Regions from separate parts of the Homo sapiens genome. Here regions 1 and 2 are each linked to region 3. Evidence: promoter capture Hi-C in 16 types of primary human blood cells and fetal thymus (Javierre and others, 2016). All regions are on one chromosome and are shown on one strand. The core of a region is centred on a gene start or on the middle of the fragment in contact, and the rest is flanking DNA. Distances in the headings are between cores, read along the strand shown. Region 1 overlaps LOC107985836 (a long non-coding RNA gene). Region 2 overlaps LOC105373968 (a long non-coding RNA gene). Region 3 holds the start of GPC1 (glypican 1).

Region 1 (3,467 bases), core at 676-3,175, 220 kb after region 3:
CTTTCCTGACCTCCTTCAAATCCCAACCTTAAAGCTAAGCCCTAGCCCTGACCCTGACCTCTGCTTGCCTGAGTTTCTGTTGGCAGAGACAGCCTCAAAACCCCAGGCCTCTAACCTCCATCTTCCCCTTAGGAGCATGAACTCCACAGCCAGGAGGCGCCACCTCACCCAGGGGCCCCAGCACCCCCATGCTCTGTCCCTCCACCCCCCCACCCCTCACCCTGCATCCACCCACACCCCGTCCCTCCACCCCACCCCACCCACCCCTCACCCTGCATCCACCCCACCCCCATCCTTCCACCCCACCCCACCCACCCCTCACCCTGCATCCACCCCCACCCCTGTCCCTCCACCCCACCCCACCCACCCCTCACCCTGCATCCACCCCCACCCCCATCCTTCCACCCCACCCCACCCACCCCTCACCCTGCATCCACCCCCACCCCCATCCTTCCACTCAACCCCACCCACCCCTCACCCTGCATCCACCCCCACCCCCATCCTTCCACCCCACCCCACCCACCCCTCACCCTGCATCCACCCCCACCCCCATCCTTCCACCCCACCCCACCCCACCCCCACCCTGCATCCACCCCCACCCCCTTTCTCTCCACCCCACCCCACCCCCACCCCTCACCCTGCATCCACCCCCACCCCCATCCTTCCACCCCACCCCACCCACCCCTCACCCTGCATCCACCTCCACGCCCAGCTGTCCCACTTCCTGGCTCTCCCACCTCCCCCTGCTCCCCAGGTTCCTGCACTGTTCCCCTCCCCTCAAGACCCCCTTGTTCTGTGCACCTCCACTTCTGCCTCCCTGCAGGGCAGTGTCTGACTGTGGAGAGGTTGCTCATCTCTGTGAAGTGGGGGTGCACAGGGACCATGCAGCTCTCTGAGGCTGGCAGTTGCAGTGCAGCCCAGCAGGTGAGCGTGGGTGTCTGCTGAGGCTGTCCTGCCTAGTAAATCTGTTGGCGCATTTCAGAGGAAAGTGCCGTCTGCTTCCTATGTACCCTTTTTCTTGGGTCGTGTCTCTGGTCTGGAGTAGACTGACCCCCCACAGGCGTGGGGATCCGGCTGGCAGGGCTACAAGAGGAAGACGGGAATCTGATGCCACCTGGCTGAGCTGTGCTCAACCGATCCCAGCCAAGACCCCAAGAGGACCTGCCTTAGGGATGCCCACTCCAGCCCCCAGCCCTCTCAGGTCAGGAGGCAGACCCCTGAGGAGGAGCTGATAGCTCTGAGACTCACCTGGTCAGTGGCGGGCCCAGGATACAGCTCTGGCCCTCTCTGGTGATGTGAAGCTTCCTTTCTGTTCTGCACGATTGTTCTTCATGAGCACAGGGTCTTGCTGTGTGGTTCCCTCCCCAGAGGAGCCGAGGTCAGACCAGCTCACCGTGCACCCCTCACTCAGGGCAGTCTTGAGGGCCTCTGGTGGGTGCCTGGGGCCAGCCTGAGGCCTCCCCGGGGCTGCCCCTGCCCCAGCAAAGGGCTCCGGACCAGAACCAAGACCTCTCCTCGAGGGCCAGGGAGGCCCCAGCCAGGCTCCATTCCCTGACCATGTTCCCATCGAAGCTGGCAGGGATGGCTCAAGGCCGTGACATGCTACTTTGCTGATAGCCATGAGTGGCATCACTGTCACCTGGTTTTTCAGGCAGGGGAACTGGGGGTTCTGACAATGATGCACCCACATCACACTCTGGAACCTGCACTCGACCACCAGGGCTCCGTCTGGACACTCAGGGGTTACATAATGGTGGGGGACTGGGGTGGTCCTGGAAGGGAAGGAGCAGCTGCTTAGGGTCTGGGGCAGGATTCTGGGCCCTGGTCCTTAGGAGGAGGGAAGGGGACTAGGCCGAAGGATGGGCTGGTGCAGTGACCAGGGGCAGGGCCAGAGCCTGCGGGATGGGAGCCCAGAGGGAGACCTGGCCTGCCTGATTGCCAGGCCTTGCCGGGGGAGGGTTGGTCTTTTCTCCAAGAGTCATGGGTCCTGACCCGCAGGAAGGCGGCACACTGAGTTGGAAAGAGTCTGCGGGGAACCAGGGTACCAGACACTGACGCTCCCACCAGGCCTTCCACCTGCTGCACAGCTGTGCATGAACTGGGCGCCCGGCCCACACCCAGGGCCCGAAGCGGCTGCAAACCAGACCAGACAGAGGCCATGGTTTCCTGGGCCACAGCTGTGAAACACGTGTTCAGGTTAACTGTCCGAGCTCACAGTCCAGCAGCAACCCGGCTTCCCCAGCTTGGTGCTTGGAGACCCGGCCAGAGGCGGCAAGCAAGCTGGGAGCCATCTTGTCAGGCAGTGAAGGTGCCCGAGTCAGCTGGTGGACTGTGAGGCCAGATCTGGGCTGCATGGCCTCCGAGGACCCTGCAGTGCCCTCTCTCATATCCGGGGGCACCCTGGAGTTCCTCCCCAAGGACGTGCTTGAAGCTCCAGGCCCGTCCCGGCTCAGATCCACCATGGGCTCCGCATCTGTATCTAGTCAGGAGGCCACAGCCAGGGGTCAGCCAGCCTCTCTCTGCCTAGTGAGAAAAGGAAAAAAGCTTTTATCCAAGGAATGTAGTCTTTTGACACTGTCAGTCCCAGAAAGACGTTAAGATGAGACAGCAGTCACATCCTCTCCCGCTTTGAGCTGTGTGTCCACCTCTTGAAGCTGCTTGTGACCGCTGCAGCAGCTGTAAAGTAACCTAGTAATGCCACACTGGACGCTGTAACTCATGCCCTGTAGCTGAACAGTGGATAGCCAATCACTCACCAATGTGGTTTCCGTAAGCCAATGGGAATTCCCAACAAACAACTCTCTGTCCCCCTTTTTCGTCTTTAAAAACCTGCCTGTAATAAAGGCCGAATAGGGCTCCTATCCAAGCTGCTTCAGTCCGAGTCTTCCAGGCAGCTGCCCTCACCTCAGCTCAAGTCAATCTTTCAGCTACATTTTATGCCTCAGCCTCTTCCTTTTAGGTGGTCACCAGCATCCCTGCAGATGGGAGCCAGCTGCGGCTGTGTCCCGAGGCAAGGGCAGGCAGTGCCTTCAGGCTGGGTGAGAGGGGACATCTCCAGGCAGGCTCCTGCTCTCAGGCCGAGCTGGCCAGCATGGCTGGAATGCTGATGAGGAGAGCAGGAGCTGGACTCACTGAATGCTAATGAGAGGCAGACAGCACCTCCGTGCATGGCAGGCCCGCGCCAGGCCGCTCTGAGGGATACCCTGGTCAGTACCCCAGAGGTCATGTCTGGGTTCTTATCTGTTGAAAGACTGGGAAGTGGCTGTTCGTTCAAGGAGCTGGTCGTGTGGCCTGGCCCGGGATCCTGTGCTTGCCTGCTCTCTCACAGCACTGGTGAACGCCCACGTGAGCGGTGTATTCCTGTCTACACAGCAAGCAGCCTGTGAGGGGTGCATTCATTTTTACACAGTGAGCGCCCTGTGCTACGTCTTGATCACTATCCAAGCGGAATTCTGTGCCCTCCCGAC
Region 2 (3,445 bases), core at 104-2,603, 180 kb after region 3:
CTCCAGGCTGTCCCAGGAGGCACCTGAGCTCATACAGATCGGTGGTTTCCCACTCCCAGAGCCTCCGGGGGCTCGGTGCCCCTCTGCCCACTTTGTGTCCGGCTGATCAGGAGGCTCACGTCGGCCTCCTCAGAGCAAAGCTCACCCACATCCCATGCAGGGATGGGCAGGACCTGTGAGCCCACCCTGTGACAGGAAGGCCCCACAGTACAGATACAGGGAGCCCCTCCAATGGCATGCACCACCAGGGTGCCAGATCAGGCTAGACCAGTGGCCAGCACCCACCTGCAGCGCAGGCAGTCCTGAAATCCTGTTTCCAAACCTCCTGAGCCCCTCTTCCCTGTATGGCCTCCAGGCCGCCTCCCTCTGTCAGGATTAAGCCCAGCTTTCTCATGGAGACCGTGTCTGTCTCCATCCCCGGCACCGTCTCCATCCCCAGGCACCCTCACACTCACTCCCAGCTGCATGGCCGCCACCCACCCAGCTGGGGTTTCCATTAGGCCCTGTAGGTTCCCCACCTCGGTCTCCTTCAGTGGGTTCCTTCTACACTACTGAGGTCAGGGCCACATCACAGTCATTTCTGTGTGTCCAGGGCTGTGAACACGGAGCTGCCGCGGTCAGCATTCCCTGTACATGGATGTAGGGTCAGGACCACTGTACCCTGTGGGGGCCTAGGTCACAGAGAAATCCCAGGCCTTGTTCAGAGATGGTGAAGGGTGCCCGGTGGCAACAGCAGGGTGTCCTCTGAGCCCCGGCACTTCTGAGCTCAGGGCTGAGTGACCACACAGGTAGCTGCTATGGGCCCAGCCCTTCTGCATCGTGCTGGGGGGATGCGGGGGCTCTGTTGCCTTCTCGGGTCCCAGGGAGATGTGCCTTCTGTGCCCACGTCTCAGCGGCTCCCACGGCGCATCCAGTGAACTGGGAAGTGTGAATGAGCACCTGCTCGGGCCAGTGATTCATCCGAGTGTCGTTAGCTGCTAATTATAATTAAACCTTTGATGAGTTGTGTTTCTTATCTTCTTAATTAAAATAATTATGACTAATGGAGTGGATGGCACTGAACTCCGACAGGTCTCCTGCAACATGTTACAGTGCCCAAACCCAGCTCCAGGGTGAGCTAGATGGATGGGGCTGTCACCCGGCAGCCAATGGCAAGTTCTGGGTCACCCTCAACCCCAAGGGCCAGCCCAGCACCCCTGGGGGAGGAGCGGGGGAGAGAGCCACTGCTGATTCTGTCTGCCCAGCACAAACCCCAATCTCTAAACCAGGGCTTGCTCCCAGATGGGGAGGCAGTGGGAGCGGGAGGGAGGGAGAGCTGGGGCGGGAAGGTGCAGGGAGACTCCTTCTCCCTCCTCGCCTGGTCCCTGGACATCTGCCAGTCCCAGCCAGTAGTGAATGGCTGATGTCACCATGGCCCTGGCGGAGCCACGGTACTTCCCAGCTTACAAAGTACTCTCAGTGCTGCGGGGTCATGATGTCCCCTCCCACCCTGCTGGGCCTCCGTCTTACAGAGAAGCAGCCAGGCCCAGGGAAGACTTGCTCACCAAGGGCAAAGGGCAGTGAGTCGGCCACAGGAACACAGCCCCCGGCCTTCAGGGCCAGCCGCCACCCACGCCAGCCACCCTGGGCGTACAGAATGTACCCGTGCGCGGGGGCTGGAGGTCGGCTATTCCGGGATCCGTGGCCATGGGATGACCAGCCCCTCCCCCGCTGAGGACTCAGCCTCCTTCTGTGTGGGATGAGGGGGTGGCAGGCTGGCCTCTGAGGCTGCTCTGTGAGGCCACGGGGGACCACTCGAGTGTGGGGAGCCCCAGGCTCAGCACACAAAGGTCTCACCCAGCCCGTGACTGACCCCGGGCAGCCCAGCGTGAGTCATGCTCTCAGGCCACACCCACCTACTCTGAGGCTGCGGTTTCTCATCACTACCCAGAGGCGTGGCCTCCTGCAGGCGTGTGGTCAGCCCAGGCTGGGCTAGGGGTCACAGCCCTGCTGGTCATACGCACCTTGGGTCATCTCCAGGGACTGGCAGCCAGGCCTCTGCAGCCCCTTCTCCGCCGGCTGCTTGGGCTCAGGGGTACCGGGCCCTCTCCTCATGCCCTTTATGGGTGGGGGCGGAGGGTTTGTGCCCACCCTTTCTTCTCAGGGAGGCTGAGCGGGGGTGAGGGCTGTCCACGCAGTTGGTGGGGGCCAGAGTGGCACCAGCTGGGACTTGCTGTCTGACCCTAGGGGTCCCTGTGGCCAGCCCCAGCCCTGGTGCCCACCCTGGGCAGGTCAGGAACGGGACAGTGTGGTGGCCAGGAAGGCTTCAGGAACCAGAAAGTGGGTGCCGTGGGGTCTTCCTCTCCAGGCACGGGTCCTGAGCCTTCCCTAGGGTCCCCCTCTGCCCTGACCTCTACCCCTTCACATGGGGCTCCGTCAGCCTGTGGCTCTCATCCTGGGCGCTTGTGCCCACTGGTCCTACTGCAAACTACACCCAAGGGCCTCCTTGCACCCAGGTGCCTTCTCTGTCCTCAGCCTCGAGACTCCGTGTGGCTGGGCTGGGGCCTTCCACTGCCGCGGCAGTGCTTGGGCTGTACTCTTGTGGGAACCCTCCTCCCTCTTCAGCCCTCCTTCTCCCTTCCCAAAGACTCTCCTTTATGGGGGTCAAGGGAGGGAGGGTCCATCCCAGGAGTCTCCATGGCTGGGAAGAGGTGGCCTTGTCTCCCAGGATCCTCATCAACGTCTCCTCCACCCCAAGCTGGGCCGATTTCCCCCTTGTCAATCCCACCCTTGCAGGGATGACTGTAAGGTGGGGCGGGTGAGGAGGTGGCACCATCTGATTGGCCTGCCTGGTAGAGGCGGGAGAGCTAGAAATGTGATTGACAGAGGGACCCAGCAGTGTCTCAGGAGGTGGGAAGGGGAGGTCCCCAGGGCAGGTGTTGGGGTCCCCAGAGCTGTCCCACAGGAGCCCCCAGCCAGAACTCCCTGGGGCAAGGCCTACTCCCTTGTACTGTGTCTCAGGAAGGTCCCTGCCCACCTGGCAGGTAGGACGGGATACCTGGGGCCGTGCTAGGCCAGATCTGAAAATGCCTCCAGAGAAAATCTTCAACCACTGGCTCGCAGCCTGGGAGGGAGGGAGGCCCCAGGAGGAGGAGACTGTGCAGCTGCTGAGGACCCGGCAGAAACAAGAGCCCCTTCTCCTCCCAGGCTGGCCCTGTGTGGCGTGGTCTCAGTGCTCCGCTGGCTCAGTCCAAATGGGAAACAGTAAATGCATTCAGTGTGACAGAAACGGATCCGCCCCACTCAGAGGTCAGGGGAGCCTGGAGAAGCAGCATGAGGTCTCCCTATCTCCCCTGTGAGCATTGAGACCATCTCAGCCAGGTCAGCTGAGCCAGGGTGCAGGGCCGGGGAGCCTGTTACAGGGAGGGCCCTCCAGCATGCCCAGGCAGACAGAGGGCGGGGGTTG
Region 3 (3,409 bases), core at 440-2,939:
GGAGATCCACCAAGGGCAAGGGGCTGTCTGTGGGTTCTGTTCCTCCTGGAGGGGCAGGGGTCCAGAGCCCGACTGCCTCCTCCCACCACTCCGCCCCCCGCGGCAAGGCATGGCCACAGACCCCCCTCACCCAGATGCACGGATCCTTCTTGCTCAGAATCCCCAGGACCATGGGCATTTCTGCGCTGAGTCCCCATCTGAGTAGCCCTCCACCCGCACTCCCACTCCCCTGGTTTCAGAGGAGCCCCCCAGAGCAGGAACCTAGTCTGTTTTGTTCTTGCCCACTGGGTCCCTGGCACGCGGTACAGACCGAGGTTGGTTCCCACACGTGGAAAGGTGAAGCTTGGGTTCCAAGAGTTCCTTAGCACACGGAGCCCACCGTTCCACCCACCCGTACACTTCTGTCCCCAAAGCTCCTCCGGGACCACAGGGAGGGAAGAGGCAGAGCCGCAGGCGGCTGCAGGGCTTAGGGGGCGCCAAGAGGGCCGCTGTTCTTACAAAGAAATGACACGGCCCCTGGGCGGGATCCAACGCGCCGACCACCTGCAGCTGGACTCGCGGCACGAGGCTGCCCAAGCGCCAGGCGGGGGCCGGCGCGTACAAGTTCTTCGACAGGAATCTCTACGAGGCGGCGGCGTTCCGCCCGCGGATAAGTGCCCAGCTCCCTCCCCACCCCTCCGCACTACCCCCCGAGGGGGTCAGCTTATAAAACCCACCTAGGCTGCCTTTGCTGGAGACCCTACGAGAATCCCCGGGCAGGACCGGAGACGCCTCCCAGAGAGGTCTGTACAGAGCAGAAGGGGTCCGCGGCCACCGTCAGCGGCGCCCCGAAAGCCCGGCCACGCCGAGCCCCACAGCGCCCCGACAGCCGGCCCCGGGGCTGGGACTCCCGGCCTGCAGGCGCGCTGGGCCGAGCGGCGGGCAGAAGACGCCCAGCTCCAGCCGTGGCCCGGGAGGAGCGCCCCGAGCCCGCAGCCCGGCGAGATCAGCTCCGCAGGGAAGAAGCCGGCGTGCGGGGGGCGGGGAGGGGCGGAGGACGACCGAGCGGGGCGGAGGAGACCCTGGCGAGGGAGTGCGGCGCGGGGCTTGGAGGCGAGGGCCGTGGGGTTGCAGAGGAGCCGCAGCGCAGGGAGCCATTCGGGGCCCGGGCGGCGGGGCGCAGGCGGCAGGATCCCGCGCCGGGGGCGAGTAGCCGCGTCGGGAAGACCAGGGTCCGGAGCCCAAAGCCCGGCCAGGCCCGGGTTCCCGGCGCCGCGCCCTCACTCACCCGAGATCTCCGCCTGGGGCACGTCGCTCAGGCTGAAGCCCTTGGCTCCGTAGATCTGGCGGACCTCGCCGCAGCTCCGGCTCTTGCTGGCCGGGTCCCCGCGGGCGCAGGCGACCAGCGCTGCGGCCGCACATAGCAGCCACCAGCCTCGGGCCCGGAGCTCCATGGCGGGGCCGGCGGCGCCCCCGGCCACCCGCCCGCGCCTCTCTCGGATCCTGGCCGGGTCCTGCGCAGTTCCCGCCCGCGAAGGGCAGAGCCAAGGTCCCGGCGCGCGCGGCTCGCGGTCCAGAGGCGGCGGCGGCCGAGGAGGCGGAGACAACAAAAGCCGGCGGCGGCGGCGGCGCGGGGCGCGCGGGGTGCGAGGTCCGAACGCTCGCTCGGGCAGCCCAGAGCGCGGCGGGCTAGCGCAGTCCCGGCTCGGCGCCTCCCCCGCCGCCGGCCCGGCCCCTAGGCGGCCGCGGGAGAGGAGAGGGGCGGGGCAGGGTGGGAGCGCAGGGGTGGGGGAGGGACTGGGAGCACCGGGCGGGGCGGGGCGGGGCGCGGCGCGGGGGCGCGGGCCGGGGCGCACTGGGCGCTCCTCTGGCTCTTAGGGACCCAGAGGGCCCGCCTGGCCGCGCGACTCTATCGATCCCCGGCGGGAGGCGGCGGAGCCGGGCAGCGCGGGGCCGCGGCCGGGGTCCCCGAGGGCGGCCCCCCACGCCCAGCGCCCAGGGCGGTGGCACCACCTGTGGGGGCGGGGACGGGGGCGGAGGGTGCGCGAGGCAGGGCTTCCCCCGCCGGACGTGACATCACGCCTCCCGCGCCCCAATCAGGGGCCTCCCCGCCCCCAGCCGAAATCGGCATCCCGCTCCCCGCTCCCTCCCGCGCGCTCCGGCTTCCTGCACCCTGGCAGCGCGCCCCGAGAACGCTCTCCCGGCGCCTCCGTACCCTCCGCCCGCCGGCCGCGCCTCGAGCCGCCGCCCCTCTCCCCGCCTGCACCCCGCAGCGGCTCCCTCCCCGCGCCCTTCCAGCCGTCTCGCGCTGGGCTCCGGCTCGCACCGGGGGCTTTTGTGGTGTGGGGGCTGCACGCAGGAAACTCGCCAAGAAACTCGACCTCACCTCTCCCAGTCCCAGGGAGCGGCAACAGATGGCTTAATTGTTGGACCTTGACAGCTGTTTTGGGGGGGTGACCCTCCACGTTCTTTGGATGCTGGAGAAACCAAAGTGATGGGGCAGGGCCGGTCTACTGGTTTGGGCTGCTGGGTGGGGCCAGATGACCTCTGGAGAAGGGATAGGGTTGGAACCCGGCGACTAGTTAGGCCACTGGGGGAGGAGGGTGGAGTGAGCCGGAGCAGATGCCTCTTTGAAGAAGGCGGGAGGGCTGCCTGCACCTTGTATGGTAGGAGGGCGCGTGGCTTTAGCTGCACATGGGGAGTTGGGCTGGATGGGGTCTGTAGGGAGGGGGCGAGGACTGCGATGTTGGTGTCTGGAGGGCTTCACTCCTTCCTTGGCTCCCAGACCCCCCACCCCGGCCCCCTGTTCTCCACATGGTAAGGCCTGGCGGTGAAGCCAGGTGCCTGAGCTGCAGAATTGGGGGCAGGCATAGAGGTCAGTATCCTTGGCAGAGAACCTCAAGATGACCCCCATGTACAGCAAGGGTGTCCTGATTTCAGGGCCTGTGGCATCACCTGGAAGCTGCAGCGGGGTCCGTGGTGGGGGTGGTGGCAACATTCCCTACCCCTTCTGTGCCTGGGGCTCTCAGCCGCTGTGTGGGGCTGGAGCAGGAAGGTGGGGTGCCCTCCCCCTGGGCTCTTGGGGTTTCCTGCCCTGCCTCCCAGAGAAGGTTGCTCCTTCACCCAGAGACACTGAGTCATTGCTGGAGAGGGAGGCTTTGGGGACCCAATCCAAGTGTGCATTTCCCTGCCCTCCCCCACATACCCTCTGCTGCGTCACATTTTGTGACTCACAGACCCCTGTTCAGTACATGCTCCAGGCTTGCTCCTTCTTGCCTGGGCCTGGCGTGGCTGCCTGCACACCTTATCCAGCACGGTCAGGAGCCTGGGCCCACGATCCCGCTCTCTCTCTGTGTGGTCTCACGCACTGCGGGATCAGGCAGGGCTGCCTGGGCCTAGGAAGCTGGACTTGAGGTTAACCCGGCCTGAG

Evidence for each region. Contacts are between HindIII fragments. The CHiCAGO score rates a contact against its expected background, and 5 or more counts as called.
Region 1: a fragment that was not itself captured here is called in contact with the fragment with the promoter of GPC1 in region 3 in 1 of 17 cell types (endothelial precursors); the score reaches 6.0 in endothelial precursors.
Region 2: a fragment that was not itself captured here is called in contact with the fragment with the promoter of GPC1 in region 3 in 1 of 17 cell types (endothelial precursors); the score reaches 6.2 in endothelial precursors.

Annotation. Positions count from the first base shown.
Region 1 is chr2:240,213,846-240,217,312 of GRCh38, reverse strand. The region is part of intron 2 of LOC107985836 (a long non-coding RNA gene); the gene reads left to right. Among named protein-coding and RNA genes, the nearest start is that of OTOS, 75 kb to the right of the region's middle. The HindIII fragment of the contact is 1,243 bases long and covers 1,304-2,546 here.
Region 2 is chr2:240,249,707-240,253,151 of GRCh38, reverse strand. It overlaps LOC105373968 (a long non-coding RNA gene), which reads left to right. Exons shown (of 2, transcript XR_924057.3): 2 at 1-1,043. Among named protein-coding and RNA genes, the nearest start is that of OTOS, 110 kb to the right of the region's middle. RefSeq lists enhancers at 881-1,392, 1,393-1,906. The HindIII fragment of the contact is 8,779 bases long and covers 1-3,445 here.
Region 3 is chr2:240,433,943-240,437,351 of GRCh38, reverse strand. It overlaps GPC1 (glypican 1), which reads right to left and starts at 1,689. Exons shown (of 9, transcript NM_002081.3): 1 at 1,268-1,689. The coding sequence starts at 1,433. RefSeq lists enhancers at 1-316, 2,050-2,626, 3,026-3,320 and silencers at 1,441-1,500, 1,561-2,220. The HindIII fragment of the contact is 5,949 bases long and covers 345-3,409 here.